Regions from separate parts of the Homo sapiens genome. Here all the other regions are linked to region 2. Evidence: promoter capture Hi-C in human tissues and cell types (Jung and others, 2019). All regions are on one chromosome and are shown on one strand. Each heading gives the region's core, a stretch centred on a gene start or on the middle of the fragment in contact. The rest is flanking DNA. Distances are from core to core; before and after follow the strand shown. Region 1 overlaps LINC02147 (long intergenic non-protein coding RNA 2147). Region 2 holds the start of SEMA6A (semaphorin 6A). Region 3 overlaps LINC02208 (long intergenic non-protein coding RNA 2208). Region 4 overlaps LINC02147 (long intergenic non-protein coding RNA 2147). Region 5 overlaps LINC02147 (long intergenic non-protein coding RNA 2147). Region 6 overlaps LINC02208 (long intergenic non-protein coding RNA 2208).

Region 1 (4,073 bases), core at 1,554-4,053, 1.2 Mb after region 2:
AGGTTTGTGTGGCTAGAGTGAAAAGACTAAGAAGGATAGAGTATGGTTTGAGATGATGTTGGGGAAGTATGTGGAAACCATATCATGCTAAATATTGTCACCCATGTTAGAAGTTTTTGTCTTTATCATTAAAACTATGAGAAACCTCTGAAAGTTTTAAGAAGTGTGACTATGTATTGTTTGTGGTACAGATATCTTTCTGAGTGTGTCTATGGGGTATCTAACTGTGGCATGTAGCTGTGATTCTCTGGGTGCATGTGTTTGGATGAGTGGCATAAGCAAATTTTATTAACCTATTCAATAAGTATTTTGAGCACCTGTTCCGGGTACTCTTCTAGTTCTTGAAATGAGACCTGTAGATAAGATACACAAGATTTTTGATTTCATGGGAACATTCTTCTGGGAAAACACAAGATTTAAAATACCCAAAGTCAAATAATGAAATAATATAATTTTGTGTAACGATATGTGCCATGAAGAAGATTAAGTAAAGTAAGAATATAGAGGATGAGATGTGACAGTGATTAGGGGAAACCAAAGTGAGGGAGTGAGTTATGAGAAGATGTAGGGAAGAGCATTCCAGACTGTGATGAGTAAGCGAAAGTCTTAAGGGGGGTATGAGCTTAGCGTGTTTGAGGAGCAACAAGAAGACTATGAAAGAGGCACCAGGCTAGGACATGAGTTGAGATGAGTTCAGAAAGGTAGTTAGGGTTTAGATTTAAAGACCTCACATGGCATATTTATTAGTGCCTTCCCACTGTGAAGTATGGCTAAAAGATTATAGAGAACAAGGGAGGATATAATGATAGATGCAGAGAGTGACAAGTCTTTTGCAATAGATTTGGTAAGATAGAGTAGTAGTTTGTGGAGGAGGATCAGATTCTGGATACGTTTTGAAGGCAGAGCCAACAAGACTTACTGATGGATTAGATATAGACGGTAGTTGGAGAGATCATGGACAGAAAAACTAATTTTGTTTTGGGCCTGTGCAACTGGGTAAATGGTGATAGCACATACTGAGATGGAGAAGATCAGGGGGAGAATGGAATTAAGGAGAAATTATTCTATCATGTATTTGGGATTTTTTTTATAATGTCAGAATAGGCATTCTGACATTCCTGTTAAGCATACAAGCCAAGATCAGATTATGAAGTTGAACATGAGTATGGTTTGCATTTTTAAAATGTGTCTACCTTTGATGTAGAGCAGATTGTTGTGAAAGCACTCTTGCCTCCCACCCTACTCTCTTAGTAACCAAACTGTAGTCAAAGTGTGATTTAAATGTACATACTTAAAGGAGGAGGTGGTAGAAGGAAGTGATATCGTAACATTGAAGAGTTCCAGATGTAACTTGAGCTTCACAGTGGAGTGGGATGGAGGAGATTTAAAGATTTCCAGGGTGTTGGCTGTGAGCCTAATGAGTTTAGTCCTAATTTCCTGATGGAGGAGGAAAGTGAGGTATCCATCCCTTTCCATCCAATTATAGAACCCTCTGCAGATCATCATGTAAGGCTATAGACTGTGTGCATGTACAACTTCAGGAGCAATGTACCTAGAGTGAGACAGGAGAGGTGGCTGGTGGTCCTTGGAGTGGAGCGGATCGGCAGACCTCCTTCTATCACTTTTATTATTGTAAATCTATGCTGTCTGATACAATAGCCATTAGCCATAGATAGCTACTTAAATTTAATAAAATAAAAACTAAATAATATTTAAAATGCAGTTGTTCTGTAGCACTAGCTATATGTCAAGTGCTTAATTCTCACATGTGGCTGGTGACTACCATACTGAACGGGGCAGATACAGAATATTTCTATCATCAAAGCAAGTTATTTTAGACAGTATAATATGAAGAAAGAAGTGGATTGGATGATTTACTGTATTTCTGCCTTGTAGTTCAATTTCTCTCTCTTGAGACTAAATGCAAATATTTTATATTATAGAGAATCCAGTATGAATTCAAACTTAATCAGGAGTTTGTGATAGGAAATATCCAATAGGTTGGAGTCATATACTCCTGCAATTCTCCTATATGGGCTTTACCTTTAAAATATTAAGCACACACACATATATATACCATCTTAGATAATAAAACAAATCACTGCTCTTCTTATATTGAGACTTGGAAACAGCTTCTGCATTAATTCAAAGAAACACAATAAAAAATAGAGTTGGTCAAAGCTTGTTTATTCTATTTAGAGTCCCAGAAATGTACTTCCTATTTCTTTTGTTCCAATTTGATGAAGCTTTGACACTACAGCGAATTATGTAAGTTATAAACAAAGAACTACATCATTATGAGCAGAACTTAACGTAATATCGTAATATCAGCCTTTAATGGTCTTTTGTAAACCTGTGGTATGAATAGCAGTGCCTTACAGAAAATAGCACAACTGATCTAAAGAAAGCACTTTCATTCTGCACATTAACTCATTCAAGAATAAAGGACACCACACTATACAATGAAGTGTATTGAAATAGAAAAATTCATGAAGCCAAGACTGCCAAATTATTTATCTTTCATTAAAAGAGAAAATCACACATTATTATCTCTGGTAAATGAACGTGTTTGTCAAAGTTGGCCGTGGGCTCAGAAATAATAATCATAAGAAATTCTATCCTCAATAAAGTAAGTATAACTCTGTTTTAATATAAATTTTAGGAAAGGGATTTCTGAGCATGGAGTACTTTCAAAGGAAAATTTAAATAGCCCTGTGGGTCTTGCCTGACCATCAGTAGGGATGACACATGCGTCTCTACAACTCGGTGGAATAGCTCATCCATGCCAAAGATATTTTTCTATCCTTGTAACTCAGTTACTGATCAATTCATGCATAAGCAAGAATCTTAATAACGATTGAAGATTTTCAGCTATAGAAGCTTGGAATTCTATGCCCAGAAAGGAAGTAGATATGCAACACTTTTTAATTTTAATAACTCCCCCTTTTTACTTTTTTGGAAAATTTAAATAATATGTGCCAGAGAAAGATACCAAACAAGAATTTCCATTTCAAAACAGTTTCATTTGAGGCTATACAATGAATAGCATGGAGATAATGTGCAGGTGTCCTGTCTTGGTTCTCACAGTCAAGAGCAAAAGTTTCAGCCTACTAAAACTGAGAGCTTTCAACTTAGAAACTCTTTTTGTTCTAATCATAAACCATGCATTTGCAGGAAGCAAGGACATGCCAAATTAAATAAAAAGTTTCCTTTCCTGTTTCAGAGAAACTCTGAAGAAGGTTTTTCTTTTTAAATTATTTGTTTATTTATTTTTTTTTTTTATTTTTAGGGGCAAACTGCCAAGTCTGTAAATATTCCTGGAAAAATTTCTGAATAGGCACCTCTTGATATTTTCATTGAAGAGTCTTGTCACCTTAGAAAAAGGGAAAATATGCTGCATCCCTTAGCTATTCAAGGAGAAACTTGAGTTACAGTGAAAGATTTCTGCTATGTTTTTAGTATGATCTTCTGAAAGTTTTTGTAGATGCTGAAACTTCTGAGGGAGTTAAAAATTCACCTTTAGAACCAACCTGGCTGGCTCTAACCCCTGAAATGTTTTCCATTATTCATAGTTGCTTCAGGAGCTCATATTAACTTTCAATAGTACTGTTGTGATAATTAATGATTATGGCACCTCCATCCTGCAGGCCCTGCCCCTTTATTTTGCTGTCCTCTTGATGGAGGTTTAGATTATCTTTCTATAGAAAATATTTCATTTTAAAGAAAGTTGTGTGTATTATTTTATAAAACAATACATTCAGGTTCCATCTCATACCTCTTTTTTTTTTTCTTTTTTGGTTTGGGGGATCTATTGGACCTTTCTCCTATTTTTACTACATTCTAACTCACAGAGATGATCTGAGTTCACACCCCTTTGTTGTCAAAAGAGGAGAGACCTTTGGAAGCCACGTTGGCATACTTTCAGGTACCAAAGGAAGAAACTTAGACATAAAACTACCAACTGTTCACAGCATTGTAGAATGCCAGAGCTGGAGAAAACCCTGAAAAAAAATGCCTGAGAAACATAGCAAGATATTGTCTCTAAAAAGTTTTTCTGAAAGTTAGCCAGGAGT
Region 2 (4,511 bases), core at 408-2,907:
GGCACTGCCCGGCTTACTCTCCAGCGCCCCATTGCCCCCATGGTAGCGCCCTAGGACACAGTGAGGAGTCGGAACAGAGCCCTAGTCTGGGTTTCAAACCCAGGGCCATCTTCTGCCAGGTCTCTCACCCTTCCCCCTCCTGGGTCATCTTTCCAGAGCGAGACCGCGCTGATCTGGGAGGAGGGCGTACCGTGCGCCAGCCCGGTGCAAAGGGCTCGGTGCTTCAGGAGGGACGCAGCCGCGACGGGCTATATCCTTGCCGCTCGGGTTGGGAGCTGCGGCGGGGGACAGGACCCATGGCGGGGGCGCCGCGTCACCCGAACGGCTGCTCCCGGACACTTATTCGAGCAAACAAAGCCCGGAACCTCTGGTGGCAGCGGCCACAGGAGCCAGGATCTCACCGAGAGACAGGGCGCGCGGGTGCCTAGAGCCATTACAAGTTTCTTGCACTCCACGGAGCCCAGCCCAGACCCCACACTGACAACAAAAGATTCTCTCCGCTTCCACACCGTCTCCGCGGAACCCCTTCTCCCACCTGGCACTGGACGAAAACAGCGCTGTTATACCCAACCCCCTCCAGCCCTCGAGGGCAGAACCCCTTCCCCTGCCTTCGACACACCGGGCCAGGGAGCTTCCGAGAATCCCACCATTTAGGGCCCGCTCTGCTCCCTGCTGGGCACGCGGGAGGATGAGCCTTGGGTCTCGCACACACACCCCCAGGAGGAACAGCCATACGCGCCGTCGCGGCCCGGGGCGGCGCCGGGCGTGTGCGCAACGCGGGTGGGAAAGCTCTCGACGTGGAGCCGGACGCACTCTGGGGCGCAGGGCAGAGAGGAAAGGCAGGCAGGGCTCACGGCTGCTCCCCCAGGACCGGGCAAGGCTCGGGAAACAGAGACACAAGACAAAATAAAACGCAGGCACCACAAAGCCGACAGCACGCGCTAGCCACGGCCCCGGGACCCTCAGGCTGGAGTCCAGCTGCCCGGGAGGTGGGGCGCGCCCGGGCGCCCGGGGCGTACCTTTTCGGTGCATCGACGGACAGGCGGCCGGGGCTCGGAGCGAACTGGTACAGCGTGTATCCCATTTAGTAATCCATTATCGAGGGGATCTCTCCGGGCCGCGGGCTGCGCTCTCTCCTTCGCAAGCCTTTGTCATTCCTACATGTGTGCTTGTCTCTTTGGGGGAAATAGTCGCGGCGACTACTTTCTGGGATGCAAACGCGATGTGTTCATCTCCAATGACGAGCGGAGAAGGGGAGAGGAAAAAAGAAGCCAAAAAAAAAAAGAAGAAAAAGAAAAAGAAAACCAACAAGGAAGAGGGTAAATGTTCAAGAAACTCTTCTCCAAATCCAAATTCCACTTGGATTCCACTTCGGTGAGTCCCCTTGGTGGTGTCTGCGCCGATTAACAAGTCATTTCAGGGCGGGGGGCGGGGTGGGGGCTGGGGCAGGGGTGCAAGGCTCTGGCCCGGCTCTGCGGCCGGCAGCGCGGTGCCGCGGGTGTGGTGATGCTGGCCGCTGCTACACGCTGCTAAGCGGGCATCGCGGGCGACCGGCACCGCGGAGGAGCGCCGCTGCTGGGTTCCGAGCGCCTGGGCAGCCGAGTGCGCGGGGAGCGGAGTTGGCTGCAGCCTCACCCCGTGCCGCTCACTACTCCTCTGTCACCGGAGAGGCCGCCGCTCCCGGGCGGAGCCAAGTCCCGGACTGGATTGCGCAGATCGGACTCTCCTTCCGCAACTCCGCCTACTTTGGCTGGCGTCTCCTCCGACCCAAAGGAGAGCTGTGGTGTATGTGAGTGCGAGTGAGCGAGGCAGAGGCGGAGAAACTACGCGGTGTGGCTGCAGGTGGAGCCTTGGACCAACTGGCCAGCGCCGCTTCCTTCCACCAGGATTCCTGGCCCCACCGCGCGCTAGGCGGAGGCTCAGCGGGGGCGACTCTGGCTGGAGCCCAGCCCTCACCTCCCCCACCCCCACATCTGCTCTAGCTAGGAAAAAAAAAAAGAAAAAAAAAATCCCGGACAGCATTGCTGAGTCCTGCCAAATCAGAAAAATAAATAAAAATAGACGTAGTGCAGGAGCGAGTTACAAGAAAGGTTTTGTTCATCGATTTTCTTAAATGGAAAAGTTTTAAAGGATGAGGGTAAGTGAACGGCGAGCTTTTCTGATTCTGATTACTGTTATCAAGAGGTAGATTCCAGAAGCGATGGACGCTCTACGTAGTTAGATGAATTGGATAGAAGCCGGTGCGGTTAAAAATACACTTGGAAGATAAGAACACAGCTATTAATTACGCACATACACACGTTAATAAAGCATGTGAAGTAAGCAAATAAACTACAGTGCAGAGAATGGCGTTTTTAACGACGGCGATCTATTTTAAAACTTAATGAAGTTCACATTTTGTGGACTGGTCTTAGAAATAAGTAAACTTCAGAAATAACACGCATACAATTCCAGTGAGAACCCAAAAGGTTTATGGAAGAAGAAAATCGCAACCACTTCCAAGGCGCTATTGTTATGATCACATGAAGAATGGCAGGCACAGCCTTCTTTCACCACTTGAACTTTCAATAGCTACAAAGTCTTGCAGTTACAGGCTTGTGCCAACTCGTCGGGCCACACCACGTTCCCCTCCCCCTGCCGCTGCGCCCCGAAATCAACTGCGCGCCGCGGCTCTTGCTCCCCAAGGGGGCTTCGCAGATGGTACGGATCCTAGTCGCAACCTTTAAACAAAGTAACATCGGGCGGCCCAGCAGTTCTCGGAGAGATATTTACTAGTCATGGAGTTGGCTGAGAAAAGCAAGTGCGGAGATCGGGGTCTCAGTCCCACTTAGGCCGAGTTTCTTTATATTGGAAACTGTACCTGTTCCCTAATTGGGACTAAGACCACTAATAAGTCCACGTTCCCTCTTTGGTCGCTTCTCTAAGTACAGACATCTGCTTAAGAGGCTTCACGAAGAATAAATGCACATGGGTCAACACCCATTCCCCCCGCACCACTACCACCACCTGGAAAAGGTAGGGAGAATGGTAGGAAAAAAAGAAAAAATCAGTACCCCTGCTGTTCTCCAGAGCTGTCAGCAGGGGCCGCTATCCCCACCTTTCTCGGGCAAAGGCCTCTATAGACCTGGGGTAGTGGGGGGCGCGGCCCTAGGTGCGCGCGCAGCCCCCGCGGCTTCAAGAGCCAGCCTCGGGAGGGGGTTGGGGAGTGTGGGGCGGTGGGTAGGATTGCGCTTTCCCGCGGGTTGGGTGGGGGCCGGCTCCAGGACGTCTCCTCAGAATCCCGCGGGGTTAGGAGAAGGATCTGGCGGCCAAGACGGCTGGATCCCCGGCTGCGCTATTTAACACCCAGATTTTGGCTGATGACTGCAGGGTCAGTGTGAGCTGGTCCCCTGGCTCGTCCGTGCGCCCCAGGCGCGGTACTGCAGCCCCTTCGAAGCTCCGGACCCTTCGGCCTCCGGGGTTTTTTGTCCCGCGCTCCACCCAACCGGGGTCGCCGAGGCTCCTTCTTCGCTCCCCGCCGCCGATTTACATGCTAATTGTGTCTGGGAAAAGTTCTTAAATTGGCAGAATTAGGCAGAGCAAACGAATTGTTTCACAGGCCGAACTAAATTAATTTCGGGTTTAGCTCCTTCCCTTAGAGAAACAAACAATTAAGTTGTTTTATTTGCTTTATGGATATATTGGAAATGCCCCACAACGAGTTTCAGGATATTGTTTAAAGGGACATTATATTCAATATTAATACTTGCATGTTTAATTTGTAGTAACGCTGAGCCAAGAAGCGAGCGATTAAATTTACCTAATTTAAAATTATAGAATACGAGAGTTAAAGAATTGGAGTCTACTTTTCACAGTGAAGAAATACCACCCAGAATCTTCCTGGCAATTACTAGATCCTAGTCTCACCATCCAAGTAGGAGCCCTTCCTTCTGACCACGTGATATTACATTTCCACCTGCCAGAAAAGATGCTCCCGGAGCTGGAAGAAAAGCCAGCTATTGTCAGGCTCCCGAAACCCCCAGGGGAGCACCTGTGGGGAAGCCAGGCTATGAAACCTCATGATGTCATTTCCCCATAAGTGCGCCTCAGACTCACTTCCAGAAGCCTGCAGTAAGTTTTCAGTAAAACCACTGCCCCTTCAAAGCCTTTGAAGTCTGCAATTTATACCCTGTCCCTTCAGGAAAAGAAAGCCAAAGAGTTAAAGAATCACAGAGTGATGAGAAGGTGACTTCAGTGGTTTTTTTTAAAGTGACGTAAAATGGAGTGTTTGAGGCCCTGGTCTCTGGAGGCCATCTGCGGTTAATGTAACTTAGCTGGTGATCTTGGGCAAGTCACTTATCTCTGTGAAGTCCCAGTGGATTCACCTGTAAATGGGGATTCTTATTCTACTCACTTCCCGAGGAGCTCGTGGATTACATTAGATGATCTTCGTAAATTCGGAGTCTAAGGCTGACACTGCTTTATAAAGATTAAGTGTCACATTGTCATCCTTGCCATCCTCCACATCAGTC
Region 3 (4,483 bases), core at 982-3,481, 2.0 Mb after region 2:
GAATAGACAATTTCTATTACACAGTAAAGTTTTACAAAACTGTAGCATGAAAAGAAGTATTACAATTTGGTGGAGTGGGAAGAAAGGCAGGCTAGCAATCAGAATGTCACATTTCACAATTCAAGAGATCATAGTCCTGGAGATTCCTCCAGTCCTTGTTGGCCTTACCATGTCCTTGAGCACTGGATATAACCCTCTTTGCAGGAAAAGGAGAAGAGAGAAAAAAAGGCCTCTTTGAAAAGCAGTAGTAAAGGAGTCCCTGGAGTATTTCTGAGCTCTTGAAACAAGCTTCATGGCAACAGCTTGATTCTGCTTCGTGCTTCGGTGAAGGATGCTGAAATAGGAATTGGGAGTGAAGCACTGAACTATTTGCAAGTTCATGTTAAAATATGATTTCCCGGTTCAAGAATAAAATTGATTCAGAATTAAATCAAAATAGTGATTTAAAGGTTCCCTACAAAAGAACTCGGTGCATTAAATAAGCACCAACCACCTTTGTTCTTACAAGTAGTCTCATGCAGGAAGATGTAGAGAAGATTCCATCATCTCCAATGTTGGAGAGAGAAAAATGTCTGCAGAATACAGTATCTCACCAATGGTCATAATACCGATGTCATTAAAAGTTACATATGGAAATTTCTTCTCAGGTCAGTATCCAATCATCCATATTATACCACTTACAGTTTATTTTTAAATTTTAATAAATCAGTATAATGCCTTCTTTACTGTTATAAAATTCCTTTCTCATTCCAAAGTACATACCCTAAAAACAAACAAGCCTGAAAAACAGACAATGGGGTGAGTGGCGGGGGGGGAATGTATAATGTATAAAATAGTATAAATTTCTTTGTGTCAAATATTTCATACAGATACTACCTGTATCTGTCTTTAGGCACTTTTAATGTGTGGCTCTGTGTTCTCTTATTCACTTCTCAGTTCCCATCAATTGTAAGACACAGCAACTTAACAACACCTTTTGGGGGAATGGATACACAATTAAATTTAAAACTAACTGATAAATACTAAACAACTAGTAACCCTTTTATTCTTCAGTATCAAGATCAGTTCGATCAGTAATAAAACTCCTAATGTGAAAATGAACAGAAAACCATTCATAAAGAGCAGTGTGGATATTTTATATATAAATTAGCTCTGTCTCACTTATAATAAAAATAAATCTAGAAGATGCGTTTTACATTTAAAAAGTCAGTTTGAGTAGAAATGCCCTTCCATTTCAAAAGTCTAAAGATTCTTCATCATCACTTTTGGCCATCATACCATCATGATGCCACACTTTTTAAGCCATACTTTCAAATCTTTTTCTATATAGCAACTTTAGTATTGATAGTATAATTCCAAGTGTTTACTCTGCGCTTCTTATGTGATCACAATTGTTGGGTTTTTTTAATTTCCTTATTGAATTAGTTACTAAAAGTCAAACAACTTCTCTTGACTGTCACCTGGAAGCTGATGATGATGGTGGATATTCAGTGACAGCTCTTCATAAAATATGAATTGTTCCTGAAAACTGTCCTAGCTTGTGATTAAAAAAAAAAAAGAAGAAGCTTTATCCACAAGTGGTAATTTCCACCACCTAATTCTATTGCCTGGGATTGGACAGTCATCTGCATTCATGTTCTTATTCAGTGCTACACCATGGTATGACATTTTCAAAGGTATTTACATGGCACATGGTGTTATAAGTACCAGTAACATAGCTGAGGGACCATAAAATTAACTGATACCTTCTGTGCATGAAAAAGTTCATATATTCACAGAAAATGTGCCCTAAGTTTTAGTCCTCTTATTGTTAGCTAGGTAATTTATTTTGATATTAATAAAATATAATAGAAAGTCTCAGTTCCAGGAACTACTCTGAAACATAGACCTAAGAGGAATTCACAGGGGCATTACACAAAGTGACAGCATTTTGCTAATGGACTGTTAGCCATAGATACCCTCTACGGAAGACTGACTGGCCTCTATCTGGCAAAGTTTTTCTTGTTGTTGTTTGTTTGTTTGTTTTTTAGGGGGTGCAATAGACGGATTTCTAAGGCAGCCTCTTAAAAATGCCCTGCCCTACCCCCCAGAAACTGTGACTACAGGATATCACACACGAGTATGTTTGTTACATGACAAAAGGGACTTTGCAGATGTAATGAAGGCCACTTGTCAGTTGACTTTAAGATGGGAAGATTATACTGGTTTATCTTGGTAGGCACAATATAATCACATGAGCCCTTAAAACCAGACAACGTTTTCTGGCTTATGACAGGGAGGAAGGCAAAGGGAAAGTCAGAAAGAGTCAGAGCAGAGGAAGAATTCAGTGTAACACTGCTGGATGAAAGATGGAGGGGGCCACATGAGAAGGGACTCAGGGGGCCCTTGTAGCAGACAGTGGACCCTAGCTGACAGCCAGTAAGGAAATGGGAATCTCAGTTCCACACTGCAAAAAAAAAAAAAAAAAAAAGATTCTGCCAACAATCTGAATAGGCTTGGAAACTGATTCATCCCCAGAACCTCTCAGAAAGAGTCCAGCCTGACGGAAACCTTGATCTGGCCCTTGGGAGACCCTGAGCAGAGAACCCTATTAAACCTACAAAGATTCTGACATACAGAACTGTGGGTGTTGTTTTAAGCCAGAGTGTTTGTGATCATTTGTTGCCGCAGCAGGAGGAAACTAGCACAGGCAGACTGCACATGGAGCAGGAGGAGAGGATGGAGACTGTAGTCCAGACAGCCTGAAAAGATAGTGTAGTCCAGTTGATCGAGGGGATGATTGGTGTCCTAGCTGTTTCACCTCTACCTACCAGACATAGAGGTAACAACATAACCTGTGAGATATGCATGTGAACCATCAGAGTATAGCTATCTATATATATAATTAAGGTTTTGTAGGGTTTCTCTTTTTAGGAAAGAAGTATAAGCAGTTGTTCTTACAAATCCGAATTTTAAGTGATATTATTTTTTAAAAAGAATTATTCCTCATCTAGAACTTCAGAAGTCAAAAAACCTTAAGATCCACATCAAAATGGTTTTAACGGTGTTTTTGCCTAACTCAGTAAACATAAAATTCAACATATCATACATCATGCCAGGCATTTTCCCACTTTCTCAATGATTTCTGTCGATTCAGTTTACTCATACCTACATTTTTCACCCAAAACAACTATTCCCTTTTCTAAAAGAGTGGACATCTGCTCACCTCAAAAACAACTATTCCCTTTTCTAAAAGAGGGGACATCTGTTCTTATTCAACCAGTATTGATTAAATGACCCTATTAGATGCCAAAACATTCTACTATTAATAAAAACTGATCGAAGCTGAACAAGATATAATCCCTTCTTTCAAGGAGATTCAAGAGATCTAGTATGGAGGACGTAAAACAAGAAAATATTCACTTACTAAGCTATCACAGGTCTAAAGAAGAAACCTAGAAACTGGAAACTGGATGATAAATAACTTGTGGAGGTTTAAAGTGTCACAGTGCAGAGACAGAATGTGAAGCCTTGTCATAGCTGTATATTTAAGTTTTTAGTTCACCTTTAAAACTTTTCTCTAGATATACAAATCATGACAGATGTGATGAATAAATTCCACAAGTGAAAAACACAGGTGAGGAAAATACCAAGTGTTATAATTTCATCTATAAACAGCTCAGTCTAATCAAGAGACAAAATGGTCAGAAAGCATTTGATCTGTTTTTTTTTCTTGATATTATTAGTTCTATAGCTAATACAATGTTTTCAGAGCTGGGGTTTATTTTTCTGACTTGTGTTATTAATTTGTTAGTATAAATTTGCACCTGTCAACACAGATTTACAGCAATGGAACTACCTACCACAAACATTATAGGCTTCAAGGACACTCAGTTAAGAGCTTGAAACACTTAAATTGCTTTAACACTTGCTACTATATTTCAGTTTTACTTATATGAAAACATAAATAGCTAGAGTCCTGATAGAAGAAAAAATTATTTTGGTAATACTTCTGATTTTCCTCCCGATTTTTCTTTCGAATTCCAAGGTTATTTTCATCTGTGAATCACTGCTTCCAAAACCAAATAATGATGATAGTAACTCTGCCCACATGGGGATATGGCAGGAAACAGGGCTAAATTTCACTTCCTACCATAGAGCAGTTCAAACGCAAAAACATTTGTATGCTTTGAAGTCATACCAACTCAGATCCTTTGCAGAATTTTTTTAGTAAATGCACTAAAAAGGGAAAATTTAAAAGGGGATTCATGTGCTTGGAATTGAACTGTGACATTAACTGAAAATATGAAATGATTCCTGCCCACAAGAAGTATTCAAGGTAGTTGACAGTAGAACAATACACTGAGTTTGACTGTAGGGACTACCTTCCATTCCCACTGCTCCTCATCTAATCCAGGCCTTCATCATCTCTTGCCAGGACAACTGCAAAAGTCTCTCAACTGCCCACCTGTCTACTACTCAAACACCTTTCAAATAGTATCCA
Region 4 (4,483 bases), core at 1,582-4,081, 1.5 Mb after region 2:
AAAAATTGTTTCTGTGAGTCTAGTGCTTAATCCCTTTGTTTCCATTAGGATAAAACTTGCTTTACATAAATCTTCTTTGAGTCTTCAGTTAAGAACAAGAGGCCTTGGATGAGATTTACCCTAAGAGTCAGATATTCTTCATTTTACTGATAGCAAAGAATCATATAGACCACTTGTTCAACATAAATCTCACTTGAAGATTGGAGAATAACACTGATGGTTAATCTTCCCAAGCCCCAAAGAAGACTTGCATTAATCACCTGAAGCACTTACCTTTAGTTGAGATTATTTTTATTTAGAAACTACCTCCTAAACTCACTGTATTAGTCAGCGCTCTCCAGAGGGACAAAACTAATAGGATATATGTACGTATATATGGAAGTTTATTAGAGAGAATGGGCTCACATGGTAAGACAGCAAAGTCCCATGACAGGCTGTCTATAAGCTAAAAGAGAGAAGCCAGTAGTGTGCTCAGTCCAAGTCCAAAAGCCTTGGAACCAGGAAAGCCAAGATTGCAGCCCTCATTCTGAAGCTGAAGTCCCAAGAGCCCCTGGGAGGCCACTGGTGAAAGCCTAGAGTCCAAAGGCTGAAGAGCCTAAAGTCTAATGTGCAAGGGCAGGAGGAGAGAAAGCAAGCACTCAGCTCTGGACAAGAGAGACCGCCAGAGGACTAGCAAACAGCTTCTCTCTTCTTCTTCTGTCTGCTTTGTTTTAGCCATGCTGGCAGCCAATTGGATGGTGCCCACACACATTGAAGCTGGTTGGTCCTCTCCCAGTCCAATGACTCACATGTCAATCTTTCCTGGCAAATCCCTCAGAGATATACCCAGAAACAATACTTTAGCAGCCATCTAGGCATCCCTCAATCCAGTCAAGTGGACACCTACTACTAACCATCATGTTCACCATGCACCTAGCTTACACCTTGCTCTCTATTGATAATAATAAAAGAAAAATTCCTAAGAGAGAACATGATATTTGCATTCATTATTTAGAGCTGTGTAACACACTACCTGAAAACCTAGTGACTATAGCTAACAAAAATGTACTGTACTCAGATGATGGAAACCCTAAATGCCCTAACTTGACCACTATACATTATATACATGTAACAAAATTTTACATATACCCCATAAATTTGTGTAAATAACAAAAAACTTAGTGATTTAAAACAACAGTATTCATTATGTCGCAGTAAGTCAGGAATCCTAGCACAGTTTAGCTGGGTCCTGTGCTCTGACTCTCTCACAAGGCTACAATCAAGGAGCTGGCTAGAGCTCTCATCATCTCAAACTTCAACTGGGAGCAAGATTCATTTACAAGCTTGCTCACTTGGCTGTTGCCAAGATTCAGTTTCTCATGAGCTGCTGTACTTAAAGCCTCACTTTCTCTACAGCTATTAGCCAGAGGCCTCCCTCCTTGGTGCCTTGCCACATAGATCTCTCCATTGGGTAGATCACAACATGGCAACTGGTTTTTATCAGAATGAGCAAGTGAATAAGGAAGAGAAAGTGCCTTCAACATGGAATCACGGTTTTCATAACCTAATATCAAAAGTGACATCGATCACTTTTGGTATATTCTACTTGGTAGAAGCCAGTCATCAAGTCCATCCCACATTTAAGGTGAGAGGATTACACAAGGTATGAATGTCAGGAATTGGGGGTCATTGGGAACCACTTTAGAAGTAAGGCTACTGCAATGTCTTTATGAATCAAGTTGCCAAAGGAGATTGCAATCTTCAGGAAAAAAATAGATCGAAGTGTAAAAGTTTATTTGCTACATTTATTTGCTAGTCTTACCCACTTTGGATATCATCCTGTTGCCCTCCAATTAGCTACTTAATTCTATTTCCATTCTCAGTACACTAGAATGTGGCTAGACTTAGCTGTCAAACACTGTAAAAAGATTTGCCTCTTTCTTATCATGGACAGCTACTTTAAACTTATTTCTCACAAATCTCTCTAACCCAGGGGTCCCTAACCCCCATGCCATGGATCGGTACCCATCCGTGATCTATTAGGAACCAGGCCACGCAGCAGGACGTGAGTGGCTGGCAAACCAGCATTACTGCCTGAGTCCTGCCTCCTGTCAGATCAATGGCAGCATTAGATTCTCATAGGAGTGAGAACCCTATTGTGAACTATGCATGTAAGGGATCTAGGTTGCATGCTCCTTCTGAGAATCTGATGCCTGATGATCTGAGGTGGAAAAATTTCATCAGCACCACCCCTGCCCCTGCCCTGTTCTATCATAACATCAAGTGCTCAGGTTTTTCTCATGCTCTCCCCTTGGCCCCTTTGAATACCACCTCATTACTCTCCAGTTAGCTACTTACCTCCATTTCCCTTCTTAAAACACTTGAATGGGGCTACTGCTGTCTCCAAAGCACTGGTCCAATGCTTGTCAAGATTATCTGTTCACATTGAAAGTCAACTGCTTCTTTTCAGATCTTAGCTTAATTGGCTTTCTCTGTCATTTAGTACTTCTGAATGTGTCCATCTTCTAGAGGTACTTTCTTCCTGAGGCTTCATGACATCATCCTCTTAGTGTTGCCCTACCTGTCTGTCCACTATTTCTCAGTCTTCTTCACAGAAAAATCAGTCTGAGCCTAGCTTATTAATGTTCACTTTTAGATTTCTAGGTCAGGCCCTCTTCTTTTATTTTTTATTATGCAAGTACTCCTAGGAAGATTTTAGCCACTATTCCTATTTTAATTACCTACTATATGTGAACAACTCCTAAGTTTTATCTTCAGCACATATTTCTCTCTACTAAACCTCATGCTCCTATTTAACTATATAAGAAACATCCACTTGGTAATTCGAGTTTAATGTCAAACTGAGTTCTTCACCTGCTTCAATCAACTCCTAAGAGCCTCCTCCTCTCCATGATTAGAACGTCCACGCATTCTGCCAGCCAAGCCAGAATCCCCATAAATCCTTTGCTCCTTCCTTTACATAAATACCTCTAGCCAATCAACCATCAAGTTTCAATGAGAAGGAAAAAGAGATTGGGTGCTAGGCTAATCCTTACCTAGTACTTCACAGCCCCCATACTCCACACTTAACCTTCACATTACATGAAAATTATATCTGGACGACCTAAAAGGTAGGCAGAATAATGGGTTCTGCAAAGATGTCCTAATCCTCAGAACATGTGAATATATTATATTACATGGCATGAGGGAAATAGGCTGTAGACAGAATGAAGGTTGCTAATTAGCCTTAAAATGGCGAGAGTATTTTGTGTTATTTGGGTGAGCCCAATGTAATTACAAGGGTTCTTAAAGGTAGAAGTGAGGGGTAGAAGAAGAGTCAATATCAGAGTAATATAAATTTGATAAAGACTAACCCAGCTCTTGCTGGCTTTGAAACTATAAGAGGCTATGAGTCAAGAAATAAGGGAGGCCTCTAGGAACTGGAAAAGTCAAGAAAATATATTCTCCCCTAGAGTCTCCAAAAGGGAACACAGCTCTACCAGCACCTTCATTTTAGCCAATGAGATGCTTTTCAGACTTCTTACCTCCAGACTTGTAAGATAGCCTGCTATATTTGCATTGTTTTAAGCCACTAAAATTATGTCCATTTCTTAGAGCAGCAATAGGAAATTAATACATCTTATTTTTCATTGAGTCATTTTTTATTATTTATGTTAGACTAAATCTGACAGACTCTGAATGTTTGAAGTATATCATCTCACTCTTATCAAATAATCAAACCCAAGAGAAATTCCAAAATGCCTTTACAACAGGCAGGAGGTAAGAAGCAAAGCTGAACCAGACCACTAAACAAGACGCTACTCTTACATTCAATAACCTATTTACCCTGGTTAGATTTTTTAAATTCCTGAAACTAAATTAAGGAACCCAAGTTCCCTTTAAAGAGAATTATCTTCTACAAGGTTTTGGAACCAGGTCATTGTCATTAAAAATTTACCTCTCATAACATTTTTGCTTCAATTTCTATCATTTCGGTTTAGGAAATACTAAAAGAGAACAAATAAATTGTTTAGGGAGAGAAAAAATACAGCTCGGAAACTAGATATACATAAAGAAAGGAAGAATGTGAGAGAAGGTATAAAAATAAGATTTTTTTCTTATTCTTAGTAGATCTAAAAGGTAAATATTGGCTTAAAGTGATAATAGTAACAATGCATTGAGTGATTATAGAATGTGAAAAAATAAAACAAATAAGATCGACGTCATTGAAAGGAAGAAGAAATTGGGAATACTATGCTATAGGTATGAATGAAGTAGTGCAGGTGGACTTAGATAAATTAAAAATGTATATTGTGGGTATACATGGTGGCTCATACCTGTAATCCCAGCACTTTGGGAGTCCGAGGCAGGCAGATCACCTGAGATCAGGAGTGTAAGACCAGCCTGGCCAACATGGTGAAACCCCATCTCTACTAAAAATACAAAAATTAGCCAGGTATGATGGTGGATGCCTGTAATCCCAGCTACTCAGGAAGCTGAGGTC
Region 5 (4,147 bases), core at 1,625-4,124, 1.4 Mb after region 2:
CTGGAGGCTGCCTTCTCTGCCTAAAATACTGAGGACCTGTGTTTCTGAGCTTCTGTAGTGGGAAGTGGGCTCTTCTTCCCACCACGACTTATATGGCAGAGTTTATCAAACTAAGAAAGTTATTCAGAGGCTGAAAAGCTCAAAAATGTGACAGATTTCTTTCTTCTTCTTCTTCTTTTTTTTTTTTTTTCTTTGAGACAGAGTCTTGCTCTGTCGCCAGGCTGGAGTCCAGTGGCATGATATCAGCTCACTGCAACCTCCTTCTCCTGGGTTCAAGCGATTCTTCTGCCTCAGCCTCCCTAGTAGCTGGGACTACAGGTGGGTCCCAGCTAATTTTTGTATTCTTAGTAGAGACGGGGTTTCACCTTGTTGGCCAGGATGGTCTCGATCTCTTGACCTCGTGATCCACCCACCTCGGCCTCCCAAAGTGCTGGGATTACAGGCGTGAGCCACTGTGCCTGGCCAAAAATGTGACAGATTTCTACTATAATACTCAAGAAAAAGTAAAACTTTGCAACAGCCCCAACTTGTGGTATATGCGCTCATGACTTTCAAGTTAATTCTTTGTATCTCCTCAGCTTTTATATCCCCAAGTCTCATGCAGATGACTTGAGTAATTAGTATTCTCATGAAATTATCTACAGTGTATAGATAAATTTAGTTTCATTAAATTTAAAATGCCTTGCCAAAGGTCACACGCCAAAATACTAAAGAAGATCCAGATTCAGGGCACAGATATTGGGTTCCCTGAACTCAATACTAAAGACATTGTGTCCTCTTTGTGTTTTCCAAGGATAACTATTCATTATTCATTCAAATTAAATGTTCTAGTGAACAACATGAAAATTATCTTACTTTAGTTACACAGAGCAAACTGCAAAGCCAAATGGGACTTCTATTGAATATTATAATGGAACAGGTCCCAGTGAAGCCCTTTTACTTGATAATGTTCATTGGTAACTCAATTCAAAAATTACCTTAAAAAGTTCAGCTGTGAGGCAAGGCATTCAAATGAATTACTTGAGCATGACCTAAAGGATTTGTGCCAAAAACTAATTCATTATTTTTCAGTGCCTCTCTAAGTAATTTTCTTTGGCTATTTAACATATATATATCTGATGTGAAAGCCCCAAAGAGTAGTTGAGAAACTAACACCTGATAAATTTGTAGAATCATAGCCACTAGATGCAGAAGGATCAAAGGCAACCAGACTGGATGGAGAAATTAGGCTTTATTAGGCTGTGGTCTGTTCTGAAATTTTCTGTTTCCCACCCTTGTCTTGGAGGATGCTTTGCTTGAAAACTAAGAATTGCATAGCTACACTGGACAGAGTAATTGTTAAATTTTAGAAAAAAAAAAACACACCTATTTTCCAGTTTCAAAGAACAGCTTCTATTTCCTCTTCATAATATACATGCTTATGGACTGCATGCAGTAGAAAGTTGGCTGCCTTTTATGGGCAAAAGAATCCTTCATAGGATTCAACCAGCTCACAGAGGATGGCTTTGGGGTTAAGAGCAAAATATCCTTAAGACTAATTTGTGCAATTTTGTCCATAGATGGGGGTGTGTGTGTGCGCATGCACGCATGGTGTTTACTTCCATATGTATGTGTTCATATCTCCCTTGTGAACCCAGGGTATTGATAGAGAAAAAGTTGTGATGAGACAGGAGGGAATGAATGGGATTCAGATTTTGAATTCAGTAGACTTCTAAATCTAGTTCTCCATGCCGCAGAAACTATGACAGTTGTGTTGAAGACAGAAAGACCACTCTACTCTTGACTTCCCGTTTAATGATCAACTGAAAATTTAACAAGCTGCTAGCCACTCTTTAAATGCTCACACCTAGTCCTAGGGAGAACCGATTTCAGTTCTAAAAAGGGTCTTTCTAATAAGTAAGCCTCCCCCTCCCTAATAATTTGAGTTGTGAATTCCTGATCCCCGAGGCATTTTAGCAGAGGCTACATGGCAGTGGGTCCTACATCCTCCAAAAGGGACTCAGTTAATGAATTAATGATGGATAGTAGTCAGTGATCTGCAAAATGCCTGTTAACTCTAAGACTCTGTAATTCTAAAATCCAGTTGTTAGAACTAGAACTGTGGTCACACCAAATAGCTGCCTGATGAAACAGGTAATAAAGACAAACATCTATGACAGGATGGAGCCTGAAGAACTAACTCTCAGGATCAATACTCCAGTCACCAAGTGACAGGTAGCAACGACAGCTGCCAGAAACTTGCTAACCTCTCCCAGTCAAGTCAACCTCCCTGACTTTTATGTTTGTCTATTTGGCAGCCCTCCTAATATAACTATTGTTGAACTTCTAGTTAACTTCAACAACAGTATAATGTATTGCATCAGTATAAATTTAATTCTCTTACAGACAATTTTACAAAGGAGCACTGTATTTTGAATTATCCTTATAAATACTGGCACTATTTAATGAGCTCAATGCAGCATTGCAAGTTTGCAAGTTTTATGGGATGGCTTGAGTGGAAATGTTATAAAATGAGATTTCAACATGTAAATCCTCAGAATTCGTATGTTGTATTATCAGAAAATCATCACTTTAAGTAAAACTAAAGCTTTTGCACACTCACTTCATTTTTGGCTCTGTTGGTTTTGTTTATGTATGTGTGTGTGACTTTATCTCTTTTTTTGCCATTGGATTTAGTAGGAATGAAGGACTAATGGGCATTCCGGGTTCAGGGTACAGTTTGTCACACTAGGCAGCCAGTATTAAAGTCTCTTTTTTCCCCCAGCAGCCATTTCTCTCTCAACCAGTAGCCAGAAATGAGAGCTCAAGTACAGGGGGGCCATCCATTCTGCCCTCAAACTTTTCCAGAACAGCTTTGATTGCTGCTCCAAAACCATGGGCTTTCTAGGAGTAGGAGTTGCTTTATCCTTGCTTTGATGCAACATTCAAAATCTTTCTAAATTTCATCTTTGAATCTTAATTTTTAACCTCTTAGTGGTGCTTCAAATATTTTTTCCTATTCATTTAGCAACATTTTCAAACTGCATTTCCCTGTAATTTGTACCTCATTTAACGTTATTGCTTGAAATTATTTTGGGATGGGGTTAGTTCCAGAGATTTCCCACAAAATAATGTTGCATTGCCTTGCTCAGTTAAGGACACAAGTTAACTTAAAACAGATAGGAATTATAAGCAACACGATCTGTGGAATCATACATATGTAAAAATAAACAGATTCATATGTCAGAATTCTTCTAGTATCAGACTTTCTGTATCTTTGATAGAAATAAAATTTGTGAAAAATTTTTTCATAAGCAGTTTCGAGAAGACAAATGGTTCGCTTAAGCTTCTTCTCTGAAGACAAATAGTTCTCTTCAGTTTCTCCCCTGAAAATGACTACAATTATAATTAGTTATTGGAAATTTGATGAACTTCTTGCAGGCTGTTCATAAACAGTACCTGCAATTACCCAGTCTTTTGCCATTTATACCTACTCAGTACTGTGTTTCAAGTTGAAATTGCTGCACTGGTGGTTAAGCAGGCATCTAAGAGAAGTAAGACAACCTAAGTTACATAAAGTAAATTTAATATAATTGATTGATAAGCATTAGCCCTGGGGTCAGAGAAATCTTACAATTGGAAATAATTGAGAAATTTGGAATATATGAGAGGAAAGAACTTAGGCATAGTGCAACTTAATCCTTTCAGCCTTAGATTTTGGCATTTATAATAACAGGTAGAGAAATAGATTGGGGTGGGGGAGGGTGGAGTGGGGAAGGTACACTTTCTTCATAGTCACAAAAATAGCCAGTAGAAAGAAGCTCTCTAGGCTTTCTTGAAAATAAGCTGTGTCTAATGGAGACATCACTTTGCATCTTTCTTGGGGGACCCACAGAGGTACATCTACAGAATTGGTCACTTGTTATCTGCCCTTCCCTTCTGCGAATGCTCTGTTTTTCATTGTGCCTGGGCCTTCTCATCGGCTGCCATGTCTGTATGGTATCACAATCAACTTTTTTTTATTCCAACTTCAACTCTGCTTAATCACTACCACTTAATCCTTCTTTGCTTAAGTTCACATATATTTATCATAAAAATTAAATGGAAATATTAGTGTAAACCACTGACTCCTGTGCCAGTATCAGAATAATGGTTTAGGAACTGCTAC
Region 6 (4,082 bases), core at 898-3,397, 2.0 Mb after region 2:
ACACTTAGGGCCAACTGTTTTCCTACTTCTTTGCTCGGGCTCCCCATCTCTCTCCTCAACTTTCTCTCTCCCCTCATGCTGTCTCCCCCTCTGTTCTTTCCTGCTCCATATGCTGCCTGCCTCTCACTTCCCCTTTAGCTATAGACAGTCTAAAGCTGCTTATCAGCCTTCTTCTTGTCGGCGCACAGTTGTTTGCCTGAATAGAGTTCAAGCAACTTCAACCCTTCTTTTTCCACCAGTGTCTCATGACTTTTACCCCCATGCTCTGCTGCTTACCCCTCCCTCCCCTGCAAGGCTTCAATCTCTGCAGAACTCTCACTTTTTCTCTATTTCCATTTCTTCATCTCTGTCCCTTCTCTGGGAGTTTCCAATATCTCTCACTACCTAAAGTCTGCAGCAGAATCCTCTCTGCTAGGCTTATAATGTAATTAATTTCCTCATAGCTTACTATGTGAGTATAATACTTCTTAGAATGTGTGCCCCTTGAGTACAGAAGCCTAAAGTCAAGTCTTAACTATGCAAATATTCAGGGCTGATGTCAAGAGCTAAGAAGGTACATGATGTAGTAGTGAATTGCGCATGGATCTTAAAGCCAGTACTTAAGAATAACTCTACCACTAAGTCTTCATTTGAATAAAATGATTTATTTAACCTCTCTGGATCTGTGTCATTTCTGAAATATGATAGTCAAATTGTGGTCTCTTGTTCTAATCATCTTTGCTGAATAACAAATTTCCCTAAATTTAGTAGCACAAAGACACAATCATTTTATTATTTTCATGAGTTTTGTGGATTGAGAATTTGGAGAGGACACCGTGGCTCAGCTCTTCTCCATTCCATGATGTCTGGGGCTTGTACAAGGAGACTCAAACAGCTGTAGCTAGAATAACATGGGCTGGAAGATCCACTTTCAAGACAACTTCTTCATACACATATCTGGTAGCCTCTCCAGGTGGCCTGGACATCCTAAGTGCATGGTGGCCTCAGATAGTTGGACTTTGTACACAGGACTGAGAACTCCAAAATGTGATGATCCTGTTTGACAGGACAGAAAGAACACGGCATTCTATAACCTTGGAAAGCATATAGTATGCCCTCCACTCTACTGGTTAAAGCATTTACAAGTTCAGTCAGATTCAAGGGAGAAGAATTTGACTTCACTTTCCGATCAGGTTCCTGACATCGTAGGAAAGCACGAAGGATGGGAGTTATCGTGGTGGCCATCTGGAAAATTCAACACATCCCTGCTTTCCCTTCTAGCTCTAAAAATCTGATTCTATGCCTTACTTAGATTCCCAGTAGATATTCAATTAAAACATCTCCTCTGCTCTCCAGAAGGCAATTTGAGAAACACAGGATGTGGGCTTTTTATACATGTAACACAGTAAGAGGATAACATGAAACTATTCTTGTTCAAGCATTGAGGTATGTGTCACACATTGAAATCTTGTAAACATAATGTGAATTCAAACAAAGAAGGTGTCATCAAAGGTCCCATTAGTCAAAGAGAGTCCATAGACTCAGAAAATTTACTGACCCTTAATTGTTCACATTATTTTATTTAATCTTATATTAATCCTGAGCAGTAAATATCACATTCATTTTTTTTTTTTTTTTTTGAAGATCAGGAAGCTGAGCCTCAGAGTTTTAAAAAATTGGCCCCAGGTCCATGGTTAGTCTTATAGGTTTTGTTGCCACATTAGAGGTTGTAGCACAAGATTGAACTGTTTGGAGATGGGTTCTCTGTGTGGAATTTGCCATAACTAAGAACAACAAACGGCCCATTCTTAGCTTGGGAGACAATATGAAAGAAAGGCAAGAAGTAGCAGGGAGCAGGATAAATGAGGTGGGAGCAGTGGGCTAAGGAGGGACATTGCCTGGGCTACTCAAAGAGCAGAGTATTGGGTTGCAGCAAATCATGAGTTCTGTCTCGTGCAGCAATATCCACATATAACAACACATGAGGTTACTCTATTATCAATCAGAGAAAAAGGAGATTTGCAAACCTAGGCATTTGCCAGTCTCCACAATGGCCCCCAAAGACAGACTATCCTGCCTAATCTTCTAATCTTCTTGTTAATCACTTGTGGTAATGGGGTATAAAGACCTGGTTCTTGCCCATTACCATGCAAATTACTATTGTTGTACAGCATTTCATATTTCCAAAATATTTGACAATAATTTAGCAGCTACTACTCTTCATCTGGAAAGAGAGAGTAGGTAATAATCAGATAGTTTTCATTTGTCAGATGAAGACATTTGGCATTAAATCAAAGACAGGTATGAAAATTATAATTTCAAATTCTTCATTAAATCCCAGAAGCCACACACCCTCCACTACCACTTCATTTTTAAAATGATTTAAAAATCTTGAACGTTCATGAGATTATTTAAAATTTATAACACCTGCATTTCTGCCTTTAGTTTTAATTCTCTTATACTTTTTATGTTAAAGGATCCAAAGGGTACTGGGGTAGAAGAGAAAAGAACTAAACCAAAAACACAAGTCCATTCTCCCTTTATCGTTCACCTTCATTCTGCACATATTGTTTGACTGTGGACTGTGATGAGGGCCCTAAGTCTTTAGAGGACAAACAACCTAAGGGGAAGAGGGGGCAGGGCAGTACCAGAGCCTGTACAATGTTTAAATTACATGCAGACTCTGCTATTTAACTAAGAAAGATTCCACTGCCCATAGACTGAGGCACAAGCAGCTTGAGCTGGAAACAGAAAGGGCCCCCTAAGAGAGCAGAAGTCCCTGGAAGAAGTCAGATGCTTGACTCTCTGTTGCCAGCATAGGCTCCAAAATGTTCTGCCCCATCAACAGGTCAAACCCAGTCCTGAATGTGGCCCTACAGTAGCAGCTCTGTATGTGATTTCTGATGGTAGAACTAGGGTTGTAGGACCCTCTGACTGTGACACATGTCATGCCTCTGGGTTGACCTGTCTGACTGAGCTGGTGTTCTCTCTTTCTCCTCTATATGATATGCATGTAACTTCCTAGGTGTAAGAGGAACACATTTCAGCCCATAATATATAGGTTACCATTTGCCTGCTACAGTCATTGATCACGTGGACTAAAAGGCAGCACCTTATTGCCCCTTAGTTCTGTGGAGAATGACTCAGCCCAGCTAAAGAGATTCTGGCCTCAGCTATAGAACTTCACTGTTGTGGCCGTAACAACCAAAGACAAGAACAACGAACTTTTATCAAGCACATACTAAGTTCTAGTCACTCTGCTGAGTTTCATATACTTATCTCACTGAATCCTCACAAAAAAAAAAAACTCTCACATGTAACTACTAATTTTATTCTTATTTTACTGATGAGAAAAAGCAAGGCTCTTAAGAGATGTAGAATGTCACTACTGGGTGACAGAGTGGTATTTCAAACGAGGCATCTTAAAACCATGTTCTTAACCATATGCCAGTCTGATTTGCAGACTATGAGACTCTATAATCCTCTGCTCAGACAAGGGATGGCTGATCCAGAAAAAACAGCAGTGAGTGAGATGCTATGAAGAAGTCAAAGGCATAATACAAATGATCCCTGTTCTCTAAGCTAAGGTATCACCAAAATAAGATATCTATATAAACTGCAATAAATAACAGCACAAGATATAATATCATCAAACAGTACAACAGATCCTCAACATCCCAGACAGATACAAGATATTTCCAAGAAAAAATTTGAGGAAATTCATAAATTTTCTAAAAGCATGCAATTTTTCTCAGAAATTGTAGCTATGCATAGCTTCATAGATGGAATTGCCTCATACCTGATCAGAGTACAGACAAACTGAGCAGCAGATGGAGCTTGCTCAATCACTGAGTGACTCACACTACTCATAGCTTCCTAAAGATTGAAATTCATACCTCAGCACAGTTAACAATCCACACTGGGCCATGGGACAATCTCAGATTTTAGTTAGTCCTATGAATCCTATGAATAATAATACAGGAATTCCAAGGTTTAGCAAGCAAATTTATAGCCAAAATGAGAGGGGCAAGTAATATGTGAAAGGAGCTCAGAGATGAGACTTCACCAAGTCCTCTTCTGTATGACTTGCCTGCTTTCTCTTA

Evidence for each region. The method cuts DNA at HindIII sites, captures the fragments that hold promoters and counts their contacts. A contact is called where the count stands out against the background at its distance.
Region 1: a fragment that was not itself captured here is called in contact with the fragment with the promoter of SEMA6A in region 2 in 1 of the 25 tissues and cell types used here (dorsolateral prefrontal cortex).
Region 3: a contact is called between a fragment that was not itself captured here and the fragment with the promoter of SEMA6A in region 2, in 1 of the 25 tissues and cell types used here (hippocampus).
Region 4: a contact is called between a fragment that was not itself captured here and the fragment with the promoter of SEMA6A in region 2, in 1 of the 25 tissues and cell types used here (dorsolateral prefrontal cortex).
Region 5: a contact is called between a fragment that was not itself captured here and the fragment with the promoter of SEMA6A in region 2, in 1 of the 25 tissues and cell types used here (hippocampus).
Region 6: a fragment that was not itself captured here is called in contact with the fragment with the promoter of SEMA6A in region 2 in 1 of the 25 tissues and cell types used here (dorsolateral prefrontal cortex).

What each region holds. Positions count from the first base shown.
Region 1 is chr5:117,737,357-117,741,429 of GRCh38, forward strand. The region is part of intron 1 of LINC02147 (long intergenic non-protein coding RNA 2147); the gene reads left to right. Among named protein-coding and RNA genes, the nearest start is that of LINC02147, 9.0 kb to the left of the region's middle. The HindIII fragment of the contact is 4,936 bases long and covers 336-4,073 here.
Region 2 is chr5:116,573,166-116,577,676 of GRCh38, forward strand. It overlaps SEMA6A (semaphorin 6A), which reads right to left and starts at 1,658. Exons shown (of 19, transcript NM_020796.5): 1 at 1,020-1,658. SEMA6A-AS2 (SEMA6A antisense RNA 2) reads left to right here and starts at 1,253. Exons shown (of 3, transcript NR_147170.1): 1 at 1,253-1,374. RefSeq lists a silencer at 1,414-1,493 and an enhancer at 4,354-4,511. The HindIII fragment of the contact is 11,240 bases long and covers 1-4,511 here.
Region 3 is chr5:118,523,481-118,527,963 of GRCh38, forward strand. It overlaps LINC02208 (long intergenic non-protein coding RNA 2208), which reads right to left. Exons shown (of 10, transcript NR_104610.1): 2 at 169-334. Among named protein-coding and RNA genes, the nearest start is that of LINC02208, 36 kb to the right of the region's middle. The HindIII fragment of the contact is 8,006 bases long and covers 1-4,483 here.
Region 4 is chr5:118,086,102-118,090,584 of GRCh38, forward strand. All of the region lies in intron 2 of LINC02147 (long intergenic non-protein coding RNA 2147), which reads left to right. Among named protein-coding and RNA genes, the nearest start is that of LINC02148, 190 kb to the right of the region's middle. The HindIII fragment of the contact is 6,440 bases long and covers 1-4,483 here.
Region 5 is chr5:117,988,958-117,993,104 of GRCh38, forward strand. The region is part of intron 2 of LINC02147 (long intergenic non-protein coding RNA 2147); the gene reads left to right. Among named protein-coding and RNA genes, the nearest start is that of LINC02147, 260 kb to the left of the region's middle. The HindIII fragment of the contact is 4,554 bases long and covers 598-4,147 here.
Region 6 is chr5:118,545,115-118,549,196 of GRCh38, forward strand. The region is part of intron 1 of LINC02208 (long intergenic non-protein coding RNA 2208); the gene reads right to left. Among named protein-coding and RNA genes, the nearest start is that of LINC02208, 15 kb to the right of the region's middle. The HindIII fragment of the contact is 7,310 bases long and covers 1-4,082 here.